Regions from separate parts of the Homo sapiens genome. Here regions 2, 3, 4, 5 and 6 are each linked to region 1. Evidence: promoter capture Hi-C in 16 types of primary human blood cells and fetal thymus (Javierre and others, 2016). All regions are on one chromosome and are shown on one strand. Each heading gives the region's core, a stretch centred on a gene start or on the middle of the fragment in contact. The rest is flanking DNA. Distances are from core to core; before and after follow the strand shown. Region 1 holds the start of TIPRL (TOR signaling pathway regulator). Region 2 has its middle 5.5 kb from the start of SCYL3. Region 3 overlaps TADA1 (transcriptional adaptor 1). Region 4 holds the start of SLC19A2 (solute carrier family 19 member 2). Region 5 overlaps BLZF1 (basic leucine zipper nuclear factor 1). Region 6 overlaps NME7 (NME/NM23 family member 7).

Region 1 (3,539 bases), core at 481-2,980:
ACTAGAATATTACCACTTATTTTCTTGAATTAGGAAGCAAACATCGTTTCATTACTTTCCTCTCTTCCCTGGTCACTCCCTCTGCTCAAATCTTAAAATGCAAGTACTCACTTAGGGTTCTATTTTATGACCTTTTCCTCTGGATGACTTCTAGATACCTTAATTCATTCCCAAAGCTCCAGGTACCAAATATAAGCAGATAATTCCCAAACTTAAACCCACAGACGTTATCTTTTTTGAGCTCCAAGATAAATATATCTAAATGCCTACTACACATCTTCACTTTATGACCTATACCCACCTCACATTTCAATAAACTAAACTCATCCTCTAACCAACACCCTGCCCCCATCTGCTTCTCCTCCTCCTGTGCTTCTCATCTTGTTCAAAGGCATACGATACATGCAAAAATCCAAGCCAGAGATCTTGTCATCAGCATAGACTCTTCCTTTTTTATTTCTCCTCCCATCAGCTGGCCATCCCAGGGACTTAATCTTCTAAAACCTATCTTTTCTCTTACTAACTGGTCTCCTTCCCATCCCTGCGGACCTGCAATCCAGCCTCAACATGGCCTCCAGAGAAATCTTTCAGAGCGTACATCTGATAATGCAGCTCCTTTGGATAAAATTACACCCAGTGGTTGTCAGATAAAATTGAAAACTCCTTAGCCAGGCATAAAAATTCCCTCAGTATCTTGATTCCCCTGGGGCCTACCTCTCATCTCTCACAACACCCCCTATGGTACCTCACGCTCCAATCACACGGACACAGCTCTTTAAACACATCACAGCTTTCACTCTCCCTGAGCCCCCAGCTTTACATGCGTCCCCTGATTCCCCTAAATTTTGTCAAGATTCAGCCCAGGCATCAAAAACGCATCACAACTCACTCTGCCTGACCTGATGGCATGTACCTATCCACCGCCCCCCGCAACGGTTTTATAAAGATTCAGTTCAGGCATCCCAATTTCCCAGATGGTTCGAGCCCCTAAAAGACCTCACATCACTCCGTGTATACATCTTCATTACATTTATTCACGCTGTAATATAATTGTCTGTCTCTCTCACGAGACTGTGAATTGAGGCGCACGTTGTCTTTTACATTTCCTATCTCAAGCGCCGGGCACAGCACCTGACGTGACAGAAACCAAACTTATAAATCATCCCCGTCATTAACCCCTAAGAAAACAGGCAACAGCCACCCAGAAAGAAAGGTGGTGCAGGCTGAGGCAGGAGGAGACGTTTGGTGAGGGGAAAGTCCACCAGAACAGTCACACTCTACTCAAACCCAGGCGGATTGACAGTTGACGAAAGCAGCGCCTGGCGATCCCCAACCAAAGGGCCCGGAAGTGTGACTGGATTATTTATCGAAGTTGTCAATCAAAGGTCCGGTCCGGAGGGACCGAACCTCCGCCTCAGGGAAAAGGGGAGGGGCTGCACAGAGTTCGCCCTGCCTCCCGCCCTGGGCCAGCAACCGGCCAGCGCCCAGACCCCGTGCCCCGAAGCCTCACTTCTCCACATCCGCCGACTTCATGATGTGGGTCTTGGACGCCGTCAGCTTCCAGGGCCCGAAGCAGAAATCCCGGTGGCTGCTCTGGAAGCCGTGGATCATCATGGCTGAGGCAGGACCCGCAGAGGCCACAAGGAATAAGCTGAAGCAGCGGCGGCGGCGAACACCGGTTCCTCCGCCTCCCTCCGGCCCAGCCTCCTAGGCTTCCGAGCCGTTACCATGCCCGGCCCCGCCCCCTGCCGGCCGACCCGGACGCGGGCTCTGCTTCCCGTCTTCTTCTCCGCCTCTTTGCTTTTTGCTTCCGGGACTAGTTGCTCTTGTTGCGTGACCCACGTCTTACGTTCCGGCGTTCCGGAAAAAAGGAAAAAGGAGAAAGTCAGAGGGGCGGCACTTGGGTTGCAGAAGGTGTGGTTAGGAACGCACCGCCCTCTTGAACTCGTTGGGTGACGTCATCTCGAAGGATTTTAGGGACTGCCAGGGAAGGGGATGACGGTTCCAACTTGATCCTTACAGACCTCAAAGCAGTGTGATTACCTCATGTGTTAGTGAATCGTGTTACAGAGGAAATTTTTCTGTTTTGAGGTCAAAAAAAGAAGTAATCCCACAGAGTTTAGGAAATCCAGCACCAACAAGATTTAGAAGTGGCCATCTAGCCACTCTTGACTATGACCAACTCCTATCAAAAATTGCATCCTCGTAGATATGCGAAGACTTTCCATGGTCTAGTTGCTATGTAGGCACCCAGTATAGTGAAAACAACACAGCTGACTTAGTGCTAAATCTCCATTTGCAACACTATTGTGTGAATCCTTGGGCAAAGCGCTTCTCTAACGATTTTAGGCTTCAGTTGCCTCAAAATGAGATGATTTTGTTAATGGAAAAAAAACAAATTCTGTAAAAGGTTTTAAAGAGATTTATTCTGAACCAATATGAGTGACCATGGCCCAGGGAATAGTCCCAAGAGGTCCTAACAAAGAGCATCTGAAGCGGTGGCATTACTCTTTGTTTTATACATTTTAGGGAGTTGGGAATTGCAGGTAAAATAAGTCAATATATGGAAGATATACATTGGTTCAGGCTAAGGAAGTGGGATGTCTTGAAGGAGAGGCTTACAGATCATAGGTGGATTCAAAGATTTTCTGATCGGCAATCTGTTGAAAGATTTAAGCTTTAGTCAGGCGAGGTGGCTCCTGCCTATAATCCCAGCATCTTGGGAGGCCTAGGTGAGAGGATTGCTTGAGTCCAGGAATTTGAGACCAGCGTGGGCACCAGAGTAAGCCCTCATCTCTACAAACCGTGTTAATTAGCTGTGTATGATGGTATCTGCCTGTAGTCCCAGGCCACTTGAGAGGCTGTGGTGGGAGGATCTCTTGAGCCTCAGAGGCTGCATTGAGCCATGATCATGCCACAGCACTCATGCCTGGGTGAGCGAGACCCTGTCTCAAAAACAAATAAAAACACAGGCCAGGTGCAGTGGCTCAAGACTGTAATCCCAGCACTTTGGGAGGCCAAGGTGGGTGGACCACCTGAGGTCGGGAGTTCAAGACCAGCCTGGCCAATATTGTGAAAACCTGTGTCTACTAAAAATACAAAACTTAGCCAAGCACGGTGGTGGATGCCTGTAACCCCAGCTACTAGGGAGGCTGAGGTGGGAGAATCACTTGAACCTGAGAGGCAGAGGTTGCAGTGAGCCGAGATCGTGCCACTGCACTCCAGCCTGGGTGACAGAGTAAGACCTTGTCTCAAAAACAAACAAACAAACAAACAAAAAACAGTGTTAAGCTTTGTCTAAAGACTTGAAGTCAGTAGAAAGGAATGCTTAAGAAAAGGGAGTCTGCTATCTGTCATGTGATTCTACACCAGTCAGGTTGGAAAGTAAGGCACATTATACCATTGCACATAAAAAACCATTTAACGACATTTTATGGTTTGTAGGGCATGACTTAATCCTTGCCTTGCATGGCCATAGTTTTTTTGTTTTGTTTTGTTTTGTTTTGTTTTGAGACAGAGTCTTGCTCTGTCGCCCAGGC
Region 2 (3,539 bases), core at 521-3,020, 1.7 Mb before region 1:
CCTTACATGGTGAATGTTAACAGACTAGTATATATTTTTCTATACTTCCATTCATTCATTCATCAGTAAATAATTGTTGAGCATCTATAATGTTCCAAGCATTGTTCTAAGCATTTATGGCAGATCATTGAACAAAAACAGATTTTTTTCCCTTGTGAAACTTAACATTCTAGCAGGGGAGAAATAAACCATTAAAATGTAATTTTTTTAAAAAAGTACAATGAGGTTTCTCAGGCAAATATAAAATGAACACATGTCAAAGACTCTATTTAATGTTTTTATTAATGAGGGAATCAGTAAGATTTTAAACTAGTCCAAATAGCAGCTGAGAAGATAGGTGTATATGTAGGCAATTTGATAAAGACATGTCAGGTTCAGGTTGCTGGGTTAATAACTTACAGGACAATAAACTGTAACCATTAAGATGATTTGCTGTGCTGGACAAACTTATTTACATCTCTAGTGGATGAAAATGAAAAAGTTAGCCTCTGCCCCTAAAAAGGTAATAAAGAAGTAGTAAAATAACCTAGTCAATAGGAATTTAATCCAGAATTGCATGGGAAGAAAGCCACAGTAACCTCTTTTGCCTATTTTAAAGTTTCAGATAATTGTTTTCTCTCAAAACCAAAAGCCATAATACATAAGCAAATTGTCATATTTCATCAAATATATGATGCCATCACATTTAGGAAGCATCAATATATTTGGTACCACTAAGAAAAAATTATTGACAAATTATATTATGCCATTTGTGGTAAAATGCATTCTGACCTTCAGGGATGTTAAAATGTGAAAAACTATAGTTTTTACAATCTAGAAAATACAGTATATGGCTGTTTATAAGACGGTCAGTGCTATGGAGGGAAAAAGCAAAAGAAAACAGGATAGGAAGCACCAGGAGTGTAGCAGGAAGGAAGGTAAACGTTGTAGAATTAGATAGGGTGGATCAGGACAGACTTCATTGAGAAGACGAGATCTGAACAAAAAATAGAAGTAACAGACTTAGTCAAATGGACATGTGGGAAAAGAGAATGACAGGAAAAGGAAGCGCTAGAGCAAAAGTCCTAAGGCAAGAGCTCACCTGGCATGCTGACAGGACAGCAAGGAGGCCACTGAGCATGGACCAGAGTTAGTGAGCAGGAGGATAGCAGTGAGGCCAAAGGAGGGAGGCCTTAGATCATTTAGGGCAGTTCTCAAACCTTCCTGCAAGGAAGGTGCCTGCAAATCACCTAAAGATCCTGTTAAAATGTAGATTCTGACTCGACAATCTAGCGTGAGGCCTCAGCTTTTGCATTTTTAACATGCTTCCAGAGGATGCTCATGTTGCCTTCAAATATTAATTAACCACCCCTACAGGATAGATCTAAGTTAGTACACATCTGTATCTCCCTGAAGGCTGAAGTATTTCAAAGAAGAGGTAGATATATAATGCACACATTGTTTGCCCCAAATCTTTCTCCCAGGAGTATGATTCCAAGATGATTCATGGCTCTTTGAAGTTGAGAAGCAATTCACACTTCAGAGGCTTTTAGCATCTGAAAGATTTCAATGAGAAGTCTATACTCCTGGGGCAGATACTACAAACACTTCAGCTATCTCTAACTCAGATCAATACTAGTGGCTTTAAGGATGTTTAAAAGTGAATTTTCATGGCCAAAATAAGTAATTTCAAGATGGACAGAATGAATAGAAATGTTGCCATGCCTTACATGATCAGAGTATGAGAATCTAGTGAGTCTAGCAATCTACACACTTTGGAAAGGTGCCCTAGATTTAGGATTTCAGACCAGCCCCATATGGAGAAGATTACAAGAAGATTTTGTCACCCAGCTCTAATGAGGATAGCTGAGTCTGCTATTAGAATACTGTCCCATCTTCCTGCAGTGGATGGACCTTTCATGCAAGATGCTATTCAAGCTCCTACACAAGGAAGTGGAACCTCACTGAGTTTGTATAACAGCTCTACTGCCTGTCTTTAAACCTTGCTAATAAACGTGTGAATGTGTAGAATCCCACCTCAGACTTGCTTTCATTCTCTCTTTGTAGTGGTAGCAAGGTTATGGTGGAACTTAGAAAACACATACTTCTCATTAGAGAAATCTTCCAATATCTATGCAAAGTTCCTAAAAACAACGAGAGAACAAAGTGGCTTAGGTCCAGTTCAGTTTTCTATAAGGTATCCACTACTTATGGATGCTATATGTATTTATCTGAAATGTGCCTGAAGGAGGGTTTGTCATTCATGCAAGTTTCCCCCTTTACACTTCCAGATTCTAATTGCAATTATGCAATTACACAAATTATTGAGGTAGAACATTAAATAGAAATCACTTGAATAACTTTTACTCTCTTTGGTTTTCAGGTAGAGCTTGTAAAAAAGTTAGTTCAAATCAAGTTGGAAAAAAATAATTAAGTTGGATGGCTAAGGCTTTTATAGAACCAGGAATATATCCAAGATACTTATAGTCTACTTGGGAATCTAAGTTAGAAACATGAAAAAGATTAATTAAAAAAACACCTAAAAGTCAAGCTGAATACCATTGACATGTTTTGATTTGAATTAAGAAGAGGATTGGTTGGAAGTAAAATTCAGGTTGATCCTTAAACAGTATGACAAGAAAAAATTATTTCTATTAAGAAAACAAACTATTTGTTTCTAACTGTCCCACCAGCCACATTCCAAGGACAGCGGATTCAGGTTGTTGGAGATTCTTTTCTTTCCTGGCCTTAGACATATTTAAAATGAGGACTGAGGAATCAGTGAGGGAATACAAGATTTCTATGCATAAGAAAGGCAGAAGGAGCTCAGAGAGCAGCTCCAGGGAACTGAGAACTGGAACCAGAGCTATAGAGGGCTCTGTGGGGTAAGGGCTGGGAGGCAGAGAGATGTAGGGAGGGTGCCTGGGACATGCAGTGTGCTCTCAGTAAATTCATTTGTGTGTTTAATATTTACTGAGTACCTAGTATGTTCTAGGCACTGTGTTATGTGCTAGAAATATGGCAGGAAAGAAAGAAATGAAGGAAGGAAGCCCTGTTTTCAGGGAGCTGATGTTCTAGCTGTGGGACAGAGATGCTGAACAAATATGTGCATTGGTGTTAAGCAAAATAAGGCAAAGTCAAAAGACAGGAAGAGGCAGGTAAGGTGCTGTTTTAGACAGTGTTTTCAGGGGAGCTGTCTCTGATAAATTGCATTCAAGTAGAATTTTCAAAATATAATTATAACTCTCATGCAAATATAAAATGAACACATTAGTTAATGAGGAAACTAAAAAGACATTAAGACTGTTCAAAGAGCATTTGTGTAGCTACATACTTACAAGCAATTTTATAAAGAAATACAGTAAGATTACTAGATTAGATTTTAAAATGAGAAATGCTCTCTAGTGCAATAAGAATAAACTTTGGGGTTAACTTTTCCACTGGACAGAAAGATTTGCATCTTTGTTGGACAAAAATATACAAGTTAGCCTGTGATTTCAATGCCCCAAATCTTTAAGAGTCTGAACAGGTGACATTTGTTCAGAGACCTGAGTGACATC
Region 3 (3,539 bases), core at 653-3,152, 1.3 Mb after region 1:
GTCCTGCCATGTTGCCCAGGCTAATCTCGAACTCCTGGGTTCAAGCGGTCTGCCTGCCTTGACCTCCCAAAGTGCTGGGACTACAGGCATGAGCCACCGTACCGGCGAGTCCCCTTTTAGGGAGGATTTTCCTTTCTTTGTTGGTATTCTGATTCCTAGGTGTATTAGTTTGCTAGGGCTGCCATAACAAAGTACCACAGACTGGTTCGCTTAAACAACAGAAATTTATTTTCTCACAGTTCTGAAGGCTGGAAGTCTGTGATCAAGATGTTGGCAAGAGGCCTCTCTCCTATAGATGACAGCCTTCTTGTTGTGTGTTCACATGGTTATTTCTTTGTGAATGTATCTGTGTCCTAATTGCCTCTTCTTATAAGGACACCAATCATACTGGATTAGGGCCCACCCTAATGGCCTCATCTTAATTACTATTTAAAGGCCCAATCTCCAAATAGAGTCATATTCTGAAGTACTAGGGTTAAGGCTTTAACACAGGACTTTTGTGGGGGGACACAATTCAGCCCATAGAGCCAGGGAATGCAAAATTTCCTTTCCTCGGAGTTGGAGCATGTATGCTGAACTTGGGGAAGAAGCAAAATGTGTTCATGCTGTAGTCCCAGCTACTCAGGGGGCTGAGGTGGGAGGGTAGCTTAAAGCCAGAAGTTCAGAGCTCTGATTGTTCCCCTGCACTCCAGCCTGAGTGACAGAATAAAAAACCCCGTCTCTTTAAAAAAACAAAACAAACAAAAAAAACTAGAAGCAGCCAAATCTGTGGTTCTTAGTATTGTTTCTGCCTCTGCAGATACTGGGCTAACCTAAAGCTGTGGTTCAAGCAGAAGATCAGCAAAGAGGAGTTTGACCTTGAAGCTCATAGACTTCTCACACAGGATAATGGTAAAATAATTATCTGCAGAGTTATTTTACTATTCTGTAGTTTTCCTAGATTTGTAGTAAAGTCTTTTCCCTTTTTAAAAAGTAAAATTTTGGTTTTGTGGTGTATAAGGTTATCTTAATAATGTGGATACTTTAAGTATAAAGCATGGCAGAATAGGGGATATCCAAAATCTTGAGAAGCTAGACCAAAGTTGTGGTTTCCTTATGTTGAAAATGTTTTGAATTTGATTGTCACTATCTTTCCTTTTTCAGTCCATTCTCACAATGATTTCCTCCTGGCCATTCTCACGCGTTGTCAGATTTTGGTTTCTACACCAGGTAAGGGAGTGGAAATACTTCCAGTGTGTGTAAGTCAGCAAAGCACTAGACTTTAGCTTTCTCTAATAGACACAGCTAGTGTTTGTAAAGCAGATGTTTTTGAACTACTCAGAAGAAAAGTTTTATTAGGTAGATACAAATTCTTTTACAGAATCTTTTTTTTTTTTTAAAGCAGAAACTCTTTATTTTTAAGAAAAAGGTATGATTTCTCATTTTCAGTTCTTGGCATACATTTTAATTCTTTCCAGTGGAACCCAAACCTCCTGAACCCCTTTCAGTGTCATCCAAAGCTTGAATTTCTGTTTCTGGAGAAAAAGTCTGTTCACAAATGAGCTATGCAATTTGATCACCATTTTTGACACCAAACTTTTCTTTGCCAAAATTGAATTGTACAACACCAACACTTCCTCTATAATCTTCATCTTATGATGCCAGCTCCTACATCAGTAAAGTGTTTTTCAGCCAAGCCAGATGTGGCACTACTCTTTTCTAACACCCAGAAGGAAGGACTGTCTGAATGTTTGTTTTCACAAGTGCTTTCTCCCTAGGTGGTATTGTGTAATCCTAGGCATGTCCAAGTCCTAGCCCCCGTGGACCCCTTGGTCCGGGCGTGTTATGCTGGGAGAGCTGGGCAAGGCTGCTCTGTGTGCCACCCTCCCCCGCAGGCCAGTTTGCTCAATGGGGGAAATAGTGGTGTCCCTCAGAATAGGGCTTGAGAGAGCCAGAAGGCAAGCAAGGAGATAGCCCGGGAACAAGAGGGCGCAGGGTGAGCACCACAGCAGGGACTGCCCAAATCTACGGAGCCTTGTAAAGCAGGTTATGTCCCTGTACTTATATTACCTTTTGATATTGAGTCCCCACTCAGCTACATTTTAGATTACTTAAGTAAATGAGAAGTGAGGAAGAGGGTGGGAGATCAGGATGAAGAAGGTAAGGGAGATGAAGAGAGGGCAGTTGGTGTTAGGTGTCCTGTACCTAAGGGATACCTAACTTGAAAGGTGTCCGTAGTGGGGAGGTGGGGGAACCCAGCATATGTTGGGAACCTGGACTTCCACTATGTTCTTAGGTAAGATAGCACCTGAAAGGTCAAGCTTCAGCACCTGTGTTTCACAGATTATTGGTAGATAACAAGAGGTAGGGGATAGTAGCATGTTGAGGGGGTAGGTGGAAACGAAACCTGTCACTTTAACCTGAAGAGAAGATTAAGCTGTAAGTCACCTCTCTCAACCATCTTATTTTAATCAGTCAAAAACAAGTAATTAAATACATTGAAAACTTTCCTCATGATAAAAGTCATACTGGACTTTTTAAAAAAAATTAGGCCAAATGATTTATTCAGTAGTTTTTATATTTCTAAATTGCAATTTATATCTATTCATAAGACTACAAAAGTTACCATTACAATTGTGCTTACCAACTCCTGTTGTAGATTAAATTGAAATTTTTTTAAGGGCTTAGGGTGATTCTGATGATCATATATCGAAAGCTCATGTTTTATCTATAAATGGCTGGTATTTTTTAATCCTCTCTCTCTGTTTACTTCTACTGTATGATAAAGAACTCAAGCCAGGGCGTGGTGGCTCACGCCTGTATTCCCAGCACTTTGGGAGGCTGAGGCGGGCGGGTCACTTGAGGTCAGGAGTTCGAGACCAGCCCGGCCAACATGGTGAAACCCCTACTCTACTAATAATACAAAAAAGAAAATTAGCCGGGCGTGGTGGCGCACATCTGTAGTCCCAGCTACTCAGGAGGCTGAGGCATGAGAATCGCTTGAACCTGGGAGGTAGAGGTTACATTGTGCCACGGCACTTCAGCCTGGGCGACAGAGTGAAACTGTGTTTAAAAAAAAAAAAAAAAAATTCACATAAGATCTCCTAACACCTCGTTCTTTGACCCTCAAAGAAGTCGTTGTTAATGTGTAGTAAACTGTGAGCACCTGCTTGTGGGGTTGTTTTAGAGAGCAGTGACTGCCTCCCTCCCCTCACCACACTCATCACCGCACATTCTTACACTGTGTCAGATTTTTGATGTGCTATTTAATTTATATACAAGTAGACTTTAGCCATTCCTCTTTTATGTCCAAAGTTAAATCATAATCTATTTTGTTACATAAAATTTAATTTGATCAGAAAAGCCAATATTGTGAATCTTACTTTTTAGGGAAGCATATTGTAAATTGCCACATATGCCAAAGATAAATGGAGTGATCAGAAGTAAAAACCCTGGTTGATAAGAGTCAAGAGACTTAGGTTCAAGTGTAGGTTTTGCCACTAGCTTACATAATATAGTTACTTGGGCTTTCAAATTTATAAAATAAGTACAGCAATATC
Region 4 (3,539 bases), core at 374-2,873, 1.3 Mb before region 1:
TTTTCTCTCTGTAGTCCTGATAAGAAGGGTTGGAGTTTAGGGGACTAGACAATTGAATAATATCGATTAGCAGTCCTCAAACATTTTGGTCTTAGGACCCTTGTTAGAGGTGCCCCAAAAATCTGTTGGGTTTTGTGGGTTATACTTATTGAAAATTGCCATATGGTAATAAATTAAACCTGGAAAGTCTTACAAACACAAGAATATACAAGCACGTATTCTCTCATCCTATAAAGCGATGATGTCATCAGACATTATATAGCCTCTGGAGTGGAAAAGGAAATAAAGACTTAGCATGGTTATGAAAATAGATTTGAGCTCGTGGAACCTCTGAAAGGGTCCCAAGGACCCCCAGGGCTTCCTCGACCACACTTTGAGACTCATTGAGATATGTAAATACTGCCAGTTGTATTTCTTCACAGATTAATCAACTCACAGATTTGGGTGCATTCATTTGTGCAGTCTTAGAAACAAATCTTTCCCTTTACCAGTATCTTATTCCATCTGGTAGACTCATTTCTGCTGCTGATGCTTGAAAAAAGTGTCATTTGCTACCACAGGAGGAAAACGGTGCTAGATGGATCATAACATACAGAAAAGCAAGATAGTTCCAAAATGTTTCCAAGAGCTTCTGGCAGGATCTGTCATTCTACAAATACTGCACAGGAAAAATTGCTTTAAATGCTGCATCTTTGCAGTAGAAAGATTAGGATTGAGCCAGGCTGTGAGTCAGGCAGAAAAAGGCACACAGAGGGGGATGAAAGAAAGCACTGGAGAGTCTTGTCATGCTTTGCCCTTGAAAACTATGCCAAGACCTCTTTTGTGTTTTTAAATGAAGAAATCCATCATGTTTTGTGATTGCTGTAATGACTCAGGATCTTCCACCTTCCTTTTAACTATAAACCGTAGCGTAGTTAGGTGTTTGTTTTCTTTGTATCATGCTTGCAAAAAGTGACGAAATAAAGTTAAAACCCTTTAACTGGGACTCCATTACGGTTCTGCTGTTCAGTGACCAGCTTGTTCATTATTCTCACAATATTATCTACTTTCTTCATTTCAGTCTGTCTCTTAGATCCTGGGCTTCTGATGTCTTTCCATGGCGGATGAATACAATTTAAAACACGAAAGCTGCTGGAGGAAAGGTTTAACGTTCCCCCTCCCCAAGGTGAAATCTTTGCCTGGCCTCAGTCACTAAGTCTCTCAGGAGCGGAAACTGAATGGACATTCCGGAGACGGTGAATAAGAATGATAAACGGTGGTTGGGGAGAACAGCGCGTTTCTTCCAGCGGAGGACTAGGCCCACAGGACGCATTCCCAACAGATGAGCGGAGCCGACAGCAAGTGTGCCACGAACGCCAGCTGGCCGCCTCACTAGAGAGAGCTCCGCCGCAAGCCGCCGCTTTTGGAGTGGAGTTCCACATGTCCTCCGCGCTTGAGCCCTGGGACGTCAGAGGCCTGGCGTGCTGCCACCGCCCCAGTTCACGTCGTGTGACCCACGACCAATGGAAGAGCAGGCAAGTATTCCCGGCGTCCGCTGTGATTGGTTCCCGGAGTGGAGGCGGTGGCAGAGGGTGGGCCTTAGGACGGGTCTCCCTTAAACTGGGCGATCAGGCAGCGACCCTAGAGGCGTCTGTAGGGTAAAGCTGGGGGTTCTGTAGCCGGAGGCGGCGGCGAGTCCAGAACGTCCTGGCCTTACAGGGAGAAGGCGTCACTCGCGGTTACAAGTGCCTGACCCTCACTCCAGTTGGCGGAGGAGGAGAAGGAAGGGGCCGGGCCGGGTCCCCTCCCCTCGCGCCCCGGATGGATGTGCCCGGCCCGGTGTCTCGGCGGGCGGCGGCGGCGGCGGCCACTGTGCTCCTGCGGACCGCTCGGGTCCGTCGCGAATGCTGGTTCTTGCCGACCGCGCTGCTCTGCGCCTACGGCTTCTTCGCCAGCCTCAGGCCGTCCGAGCCCTTCCTGACCCCGTACCTGCTGGGGCCGGACAAGAACCTGACCGAGAGGGAGGTACGCGCGGCGGACGCGGGGCGCGGGAAGGGCGGGCGACCGGCCTGCGGGTGGGCAGCGGAGGAAGAGAGGACCGAGAAAAGCGCTCGAGCCATTCTCGGCAGAGATTTCTGATTTTGCCAGTTGGAGGTCGGCTTCGTGCTCTTCTTTGTGTTCATGATTTTCTGTTTTCTTCGGCTCTGTAGGACGAGTCTCCTGCGAAGGGCTCAGAACACGCGTCCAGAGGCCCCGTGCCTTGTGCGTCAGGCAGTATGCTGATCGTGTTGTAATGTGGCTTAGCGTGACTGCCCAGACTGGTCCAGCAGTTCCTGCTGGGGGCGAGGGGGCAATATTTTGACAAAGAAGTGAAAACAGCAAAGTGTACTTTGGACACGGCTTAGTAAATATTCATTGACTGAAAGTAGGCAACCACTGCTTTTCTGAAAGGATCTTCCCTCTACCTCCTTCACCTGCTTCCTGTCCATACCTTACTTTGTTTGCATTTGGCAGAATGGGTGGGCTTAATCAAGTAAGGACAGGACAGAAGTACAGAACATCTTAATTTGTCTTGATTTTTAATTGGGTGAGGTTGTGTCCAAGGATATCCTGCCCCTCTCTACCTTAAGACCAACCTCCAGGGATAAAGGCAGATGGTGAAACATAATTGACTTTTAATTATAGTGTTTCTTGTATTGCGAATTGTTGCTTCACAGATGTTAGTTTTGCTTCTCAGATACAAGGTGATGTCTTTGAAGGCCTTCTGTGATGTTCAGGGTAATTGAGAGCACGTAGTCCATCATCAAGAGTTTCTTGCTGATTGATTTTTTCCCTAGATGAGGGCTTACAAATAAAGTACTTCAGAAGCGCATAGTGTACTTTAGAAATGTGCTGACCTATTTAAGTGCATGGTCAAAACCAGCACTTGATTTTTGCAGAAGAAAGACAATATATAAACTGAGAAAGAAATTAAACCCAAAGTACTTCCACAAAACCGAAATAAAGCCGATTCAACACCCTCTTCCTTGAATACAACAAAGGGTGAAAGCTGAGGTCTCATGTTCTTTTTCCTACTATCAGTCAAGGGGCCACTTGAGAGCTTTTTCTTTTTTCCTACACCTGTTCCTTCCACCCTGCCTCCTTGCCCCAGGTGCTGTAAAATACTCCTCCCATTTAAACCTTACTCTTCTCTATGTGGGTAGTAGTCAGTCACTTCTTTTGAGTAGCCACTCAGTAACCCTGCATAACAGGTCAGAACAAGAGATGGCACTACCGGAATCATTTGCACACTGGCGAGATATAGTTACTCATAGTTTGTTGTTTGCAGTTTGTTTGTTGCAATGCTCCGTCATTTTCAAGGGCACTTGAGAGAGAATTAAGAATCAGTATTGACTTACGTATTGAGGGTTTCACTTGAGAGTCTGACATTTGTTCACTTCTAGCAAGTATCACTGACTTTTTGCCTGGCCTTAAATTACCCTATTGACCTGCCAGTTGTGGGATGGAGTGGCTGGGCCGTTTCTCAGTCTTGTGGATCATTACATAAGCGACCGTAACAG
Region 5 (3,539 bases), core at 678-3,177, 1.2 Mb before region 1:
GCCATATGAGAGTAGCCTCATCCAGTATGTCATAAAAATGTTATAATTTTCTATTTGTGCATAGAGAGAAAAACGTTGGGAAGCTTTATTATATAGTTAAAAGAACAATGAGAAAAGCGCATTTAGAATGAATAATATTATCTTGGGGAGTCCAAATATTTGAATGGGGAAAAATAATTTAGTTTGGCTTTTTGTGATTTTAATGTTTACTAGATGTCTGAGTTTACAGTTTTGTTTCAGTCTTAAACATTATATTTTTACTATACAGTAAACTAGAACTCAGGAATAAGGGATGATCCTTATATCACTTCTTCATTTAGGGAGACTGTGTGACTATCCAGAGGAGAGAGAGTCCACATCTTAAATGAAGTACTCTGATGACCTTAGTCAGAAATTTTCACACTACAATCTACTTTCTTGTGTTATAGATCAAAAACCTGATGGAGCAAAAACTAGGAAGTGAAATACTATTTGCTGTAGAAAATACCTGCTTGCAAGGAATTTACTTCGCCATACATCACACTGTATTGACATACGTTCTAACTGTTCAGAAAGCTGAGCTGTGTTTCGACCTAGGGCTTCATTTTCTAAAATAAGCTGATTTTTCTCACGGGCTAGACGTTCAAAGTGATACTGAAGATCATCCCCAACAGAAGCCACCAGTAACTTTTTTAACTCACGATTTACCTAGAAGAGAACGTAATCAATACAACAAGCTCAAAGTAATATCACTAACTTTAATGTAACAAAATTAACAAAAAGAGACTGTGTTTCTGTGTAATTTTGGACCTCCGTGACTTGAAGTTTCTATCAAAAAGTAAAATTAAATATTTAAGTTCCATACGATATACAAACCATCTCTCTCTACTTCTCTCCATACATCTATATCCACAGTCCATGTGGTAATAAACTGAGCCTCTTGTAGTAAGAGTAAAAAGAATTATGAAAATAACAAATTGCTTCTAGTCAACACTTAAAGGAAAAAAAATTAAAACAAAACCAATATATTTTGATAAAAAATATGACAGAGAATGTTTTATGTTTTTTATTAAACATTTATAAGTTAGTGTATTGCATCCTAAGAATTTACTTTTAAAAAATAAAGCAAAGTAATCCAGTATGTTTCTAAGTATGTTCTTTACATCATTACTGAAAAGAGCAAAAAATTAAAAGATATCCAATAACAGTTATTGGTATATGGTATAGCTATTGAAGAACACTGTTACTATTAACAATGACACTGTAATAGAATATTCTGTGACATGGCAGAACATTAATAACTGAAAAAAGTGGGTTGTGACACTAAATGAACTCAATGTATATGGTTATGCACGTATAGCTGGATGAAATGATTCAGGTGGCACTATTTTCATTGTGTTTTTCTGTATTTTCTAAAATTTTTACACATAAATTTGTACTACATTTTGTAATGAGAAATTAGTTATTTAAAAATATATTTGTATAAAAACACTAACCATGGTCTCACTTATGAAGACTTGTATCTAGCCAAAAGATGCATGGTCTAATAGAGAAACAAGGGAAGGGGCAAGGCAATTTTTACTAAGATGCAAAGATTAAAGCAACACACTTAAGGGCTACAGATTTTTTTCATTTACAATGAAGACACAGTAAGTTATATCGCCATTCTCTTTATTCCAAGTATCCCGTATACACAAGCAAAACTACTTGGAATTTACGGATCCTTAAAACAAGGACTGCTGGTCAATTACTATGCCTGACTTGGTCAATCTTTGGTCTGGCAGTTTATAATTGTAACCTACTTTTACAACTTATTGGTGGTCTTGTCCAAAGCACCTCACACCTCCATCTTCAATGAGGTTTAGAGTATAAGTTCCCAATATAAAGTATCCCTAGAGAACTGAGAAAGAATGAGAAATTTAAGAGGAAGCATTTTAGAGAACTGACAAGCTAGGATGAATGACATTCCCATAAAGAAATGTAGTTTTCTAACATGCACGTTTAAAAGGTCCAGACGTAAAGAGTAGTACTCATTTTATCGATTAAGGCTCTTCTTACCTCTGTCTGTACACGGAGCTGGTTTGAAAGACCTTCTTTGTCCTGTAGTAACCTTCTTTCAGAATTCTTGAGCTTTTCCAATACATTCTTTACCTCTGAGAGTTCCTTATTAGGTTCTATAACTCCCTCTGACTGACCAAGGAATTCTCCTTTATGATGTCCCAGAGACTTAACCTTTGTATTTTTGTTGGGGATATCATGAGTTATAGCAGCTTTGGGAACTAATATTCTTACAGCTTTAACTTCCATTGCTTTTTCAGTGAGCATTTTCCCTAGCTGAAGAACTCCTGGGCTCTCTGATGGAACTGCTTTCTTCCATGGACTCTGAAGACTATGATGCTTTCTAGATTGGACTCCGGAGGTAACTTCAACAGATTTAGGTGGTTCCTCAGTTTCCATTCCATCTCCTGCTCCTCGGATTGGGGATGAAGTAACGGTGACTAACAAAAAGGAAACAAAACAGAAACTACTTACCAAGAAGAAATGCCAAGAAAATGCTAATACATGCTATACCCTATATTCAAAATTACTGGCACTAAAAAGAATGCAAAAAAAAAATCAGAGAAAAAGTAATTTTCAAAACAATCATGTGTCAACAAAAGATACATGTTTAAACTTTCCTTCAGTAGACAAGAGATTTGGAATCAGAATATTTGGTTCTGACTTTTACTTTCTAGTATAACCCTGGGTAAATAATTTAATCTTCCATGAATCTCTATTTCCTAATTTGCAAAACGGAGATCATAACAACTTTGCTATAGAATTTTGGTAAGAAAAAATGTAATAAGATGAAATGCTTGGCATACTGTAGACACTCAATAATGTTAGTTAAAATAAATGTCAGCTATATAGATGCATATTTGAAACCATCTACATCATAAGAGATTCATCTGTTTTGTGAACTCTTGGAGTAAGAGGAAGCAACATATATGTTACACCGAAAAATTTATTAAGAAAAGATTCAATCCTATTCTTAGGCCTAACAGTTTATGTCCTGCTTACACAAGTGAAACTACACTGGATTGTCAGATTAAACATCCTTATACCTCACTTTCACCATATCATACCCAAATTCTTTTATTGTTCTCTCATTCCCTCTAGTGGCTTTCAATTTATTTTGAGTGCACTGTATTCCCAATAAAATGCCTTGCATGTAGTGTGTGTGTATATATATATATATGTATATATGTTATAAACAATAAATGAATGATAACAAGGGGAGGGACAAAAGACGAGCACACAGATCAGTAACAATGGTTATAATGATGAACTCTGAGTGGTCACGGGCAGCAAACATGATGCTGGGTACCTAATGAAGGCTAGACATTCTATGAGGTAAGACCACTATGCTTAAGAAATTTACTACCTAATTTAGGGGACAGAACATACATATAAAAAGATAAAATGTATTACAGGATAATATATAATAAGTGTGCAGGTAAGTGGTATAAAAATATTTCAATAGAAATTTTATGTCTATAGAAACATTAAGGACAATCATG
Region 6 (3,539 bases), core at 703-3,202, 1.2 Mb before region 1:
TTGTATGGCAGATACAGCTTTGAATTAACGAAAGCCTAAAATTGGCTAGAGTAAAATTTTCAAGTTTCTTTGTGCATCCAGATCACTCTCCTCCATATTTGCCATCAATCATTTATGAGAAAGAACAGGCCTAAGAAACAGATGTCCCTTCTCTGTGTTCAGTCTAGCCACTGTTGTATGTATTGCAGCAAAGGATTATGGCCTCTCAATAAGCAGCTGAAGATGGAGGTTGTTTGCTCTGTTGGTGAGGCTTCCTGACCACTGCAGTTTATCTAATCAGCTTCTGTCTTCATCTAGTTTGTTATAGTTGAGGCTTCCAAATTCTGGAATCACCTTTATATTGTGAAGCAGAGATAGGGAACCATAGTTTAGCATGTTTCTCATACACCTCATTTAAGATGAAGCGTATGCTGGACTCATCAATTTCTTTTACATATTATAAAGAGGACAGAGAAGGTAATTCTAAGATATATTTGACAAAGATATTAATATTATGTATCTTCTAAAATATAGCATTTATTAGAATATCATTACTCCAGATGAACTGTTAGTGTAATAAAGGACTTTAAAGATTATTAGCTATGTTCCATAAGAACTAATCTAAACCTTTGAAGTAAAATGTCTCAAAGTTGTTTGTTTGTTTATGTATTTATTTATTTTTGAGACACAGTCTCACTCTATCACCCTGGCTGGAGTGCAGTGGTGTGATCTCGGGTCACTGCAACCTCTGCCTCCTGGGTTCAAGCGATTCTCCTGCCTCCACCTTGTGAGTAACTTGGATTACAGGCATGTGCCACCATGCCTGGCTAATTTTTGTGTTTTTAGTGGAGACAGGGTTTCACCATGTTGGCCAGGCTGGTCTCGAGCTCCTGACCTCAAGTGATCCACTTGCCTCGGCTTCCCCAAGTGCTGGGATTACAGGCATGAGTCAAAGTTGTTTTTAACAGAGTTTTCAAAGACAGTTTCATAATTACTGAAGAACAAAATTTTATTCCATGAAATGAAATGCTTTTCAGTTTCCAACTTTATGACGTTTCTCCTAATAGCTTTTCTGGTTTTGTTTTTAGCACCTGCCTTTTTTTTTTTTTAGACAGAGTTTTGTTCTGTCGACCCGGCTGTGGAGTGCAGTGGCGCGATTTCCACTCACTGCAACCTCTGCCTCCTGGGTTCAAGCAATTCTTGTGCCCCAGCCTCCCGAGTAGCTGGGACTACTGGCGCATGCCACCACGCCTGGCTAACTTTTGTATTTTTAGTAGAGACGGGGTTTCGCCATTTTGGCCAGGCTAGTCTCAAACTCCTGATCTCAGGTCATCCGCCTGCCTCGGCCTTCCAAACTGCTGGGATTATAGGCATGAAGCTTGGCACCCAGACAGCATCTGCTTTTTAGTCATCCAGAATTCCTTTTGTTACTTGAATTGCTGATTTGGAAGAATTGCAGTTCCAAAGATCCACAGGATTTTATTTACAAAAAGTGAATCAGAAAGCACAGGGCATAAATTGCAGATATGAAACTCTTAAAAGTTTATTTTCCTATATATTGTATTACAAATGCAGTTTAGAGCCTGTTATATTCTTGTTTAGTAGGAAACAGTGGTATTTGGAGAACGGAATAGTAAGTGGTTAATATAATGCCATAATTTTTTTCATGTAGCTTTTTATTTATTTTTGCTTTCCTTTTTCTGCCTTTTTATTCCCAATTCTTTCTCATTCACCAGTTATTCTTCTATTCGAGAAAGTATTTATTGAGTACTTTCCATATACTGGTAACTGGTGGGTATACATTGATTAATAAGATAGCACACAGTGGCCCCTAACTCATGGAATTTATGGAGAAAAACAGATATTGGAAAATAAATTACAAGTATAAGTTGGATTACAAAAGAAAAATGACAAGGTGAGGTGGAAGTTAGTAATAAAATAGAGTGATCTGAACTAGCCTGGGGTGGTGAGGGAAAGTCTCTTTGATGATAAAACTCTTTAATTGTTTTTTTCCTTAGTTTGAGAGAAAAACAGTTTACATGAATAAATAAACGAATGATGACCTCATATGATGATAAGTACTATGAGGAAAATTAAACTAAGTAATGCAATATTGGTTGGTTCCAAGAGCAAGTAGCCTTGAGTAGGACAATCAGGGACGGTCCTCATGAGGATGTGACTTTTAAGCTGAGATGTCAATGATAGAAAGCAGCTTGCCAGGTGAAACCTAGGAGAAGAGCATTCCAGGCAGAGTCAATAGTGAGCACAGAGGTGCATTAGAGGAACAGGAGGGAGATAGTGTGGCTGGGGCCTAGGGAATGAGAGGACAGCTGGAGGAGAAGAGATCTGAGAGGCAGGAAGGAGCCAGGAATACTGAGACTTATGGAACTTGGGAGGGATTTTGGATTTTATTCTAAATGCAGTAGTATTATACATCTTATATATTTTACCTATTCCATCAAAATATTTTATTTTCCTTGGATTTGCCTTAAACTTTTGCCATATTAATTTGGTCTCTTGGTGCTTATTTTTATCTTATCTGTAAAATTTATGATCTTATAAGCTTTGGGAAATATTTTTCTGAGCTTCTTTTGTCTTTGAACTTCAGAGACTCCTAATTTCATCCCTTATAGTTGCCATTTCATAATTTATTTTCCCATTTCTGGACTTATTTTTTGTTTCTATAATATCTACTCTAAGGTGTGGCGAGCAGAGCTACATATTCCAGATGGGTATGCATTATAGTTTCAACATGGGAGTTATGTTTGCTGCTGTGATCTTCACCTAGTACCTTTCTTGATGCTGCTATAGCATATGATTGAAGTATCTTACTTTCCAGAAGTATCTCCAGCATTCCCAATGAACTTTGTATTCACATTTTTTTCAAAAACTGCCTAAACTTCTTCACTTCCAAAGTTGTCAATATTTAAAACTTTCTGTTAATTAGATGTGAGAAACTGTAGCTATTAAAATGTACTGCTTAATTCACATTTATTTTCTGATACTGGACACTTTGCCTTAATAAGTTGCTGTTGTTCTCTCTCCTGACTCATCTTATGTGCTGTGCCTTCTTCATATTTCTATACTCTTTAAAATGTATCTTCATATGCACACATAATGGCTCTAGAGCTCTCTGATAGATGTAAATTCAACTTTTATCCTTTGTTTTCCATAGTTTCAATATTTACATGATACATATATATGCTATATATGTTTTATATATGTTTATAAAGATATTTAACTTATTCTGTTGTAGAAATATAGGAAAATTACTTAGTCATTTTTAGAAATGAGAAAATATAAAAGTAAAAGTAATAAAATTACATTTATCTATAATAACACTGCCTGTATACAATCGCTATTAATATTTTTGTGTAATATCCTGGTCACATATATACTCATACATATATACACACACACACAGAGATACATATCCTTTAAAATATGATTCTATTATATTCATTGTTTAGAAATCTGTTTTATCCCACTTAATATATCTTTTGCATTTTTCCAGATCAGTTTTAAGAACTACAGCCAGCCCTGGGTAGCCATGGGTTCTG

The links. Contacts are between HindIII fragments. The CHiCAGO score rates a contact against its expected background, and 5 or more counts as called.
Region 2: a fragment that was not itself captured here is called in contact with the fragment with the promoter of TIPRL in region 1 in 1 of 17 cell types (activated CD4 T cells); the score reaches 6.5 in activated CD4 T cells.
Region 3: a fragment that was not itself captured here is called in contact with the fragment with the promoter of TIPRL in region 1 in 1 of 17 cell types (naive B cells); the score reaches 5.0 in naive B cells.
Region 4: a contact is called between the fragment with the promoter of SLC19A2 here and the fragment with the promoter of TIPRL in region 1, in 2 of 17 cell types (total CD8 T cells and naive CD8 T cells). The highest score is 5.4, in total CD8 T cells.
Region 5: a fragment that was not itself captured here is called in contact with the fragment with the promoter of TIPRL in region 1 in 3 of 17 cell types (total CD8 T cells, neutrophils and non-activated CD4 T cells); the score reaches 7.2 in total CD8 T cells.
Region 6: a contact is called between a fragment that was not itself captured here and the fragment with the promoter of TIPRL in region 1, in 4 of 17 cell types (total CD8 T cells, naive CD8 T cells, activated CD4 T cells and 1 more). The highest score is 9.3, in total CD8 T cells.

What each region holds. Positions count from the first base shown.
Region 1 is chr1:168,177,153-168,180,691 of GRCh38, reverse strand. It overlaps TIPRL (TOR signaling pathway regulator), which reads right to left and starts at 1,730. Exons shown (of 7, transcript NM_152902.5): 1 at 1,511-1,730. The coding sequence starts at 1,614. RefSeq lists enhancers at 1,499-1,618, 1,606-2,107. The HindIII fragment of the contact is 4,299 bases long and covers 1-2,679 here.
Region 2 is chr1:169,897,635-169,901,173 of GRCh38, reverse strand. No RefSeq gene overlaps it. Among named protein-coding and RNA genes, the nearest start is that of SCYL3, 5.5 kb to the right of the region's middle. The HindIII fragment of the contact is 5,358 bases long and covers 1-3,539 here.
Region 3 is chr1:166,867,115-166,870,653 of GRCh38, reverse strand. It overlaps TADA1 (transcriptional adaptor 1), which reads left to right. Exons shown (of 8, transcript NM_053053.4): 2 at 800-891; 3 at 1,144-1,209. It also overlaps the pseudogene DUTP6. Among named protein-coding and RNA genes, the nearest start is that of TADA1, 7.4 kb to the left of the region's middle. The HindIII fragment of the contact is 801 bases long and covers 1,502-2,302 here.
Region 4 is chr1:169,484,028-169,487,566 of GRCh38, reverse strand. It overlaps SLC19A2 (solute carrier family 19 member 2), which reads left to right and starts at 1,623. Exons shown (of 6, transcript NM_006996.3): 1 at 1,623-2,004. The coding sequence starts at 1,801. RefSeq lists enhancers at 1,189-1,258, 566-1,486, 1,269-1,518, 1,322-1,616, 2,159-2,218 and a silencer at 1,799-1,978. The HindIII fragment of the contact is 10,248 bases long and covers 1-3,539 here.
Region 5 is chr1:169,375,478-169,379,016 of GRCh38, reverse strand. It overlaps BLZF1 (basic leucine zipper nuclear factor 1), which reads right to left. Exons shown (of 7, transcript NM_001320973.2): 3 at 2,038-2,477; 4 at 488-687. Among named protein-coding and RNA genes, the nearest start is that of BLZF1, 9.1 kb to the right of the region's middle. The HindIII fragment of the contact is 3,684 bases long and covers 86-3,539 here.
Region 6 is chr1:169,359,330-169,362,868 of GRCh38, reverse strand. All of the region lies in intron 1 of NME7 (NME/NM23 family member 7), which reads left to right. Among named protein-coding and RNA genes, the nearest start is that of NME7, 6.7 kb to the left of the region's middle. The HindIII fragment of the contact is 1,185 bases long and covers 1,360-2,544 here.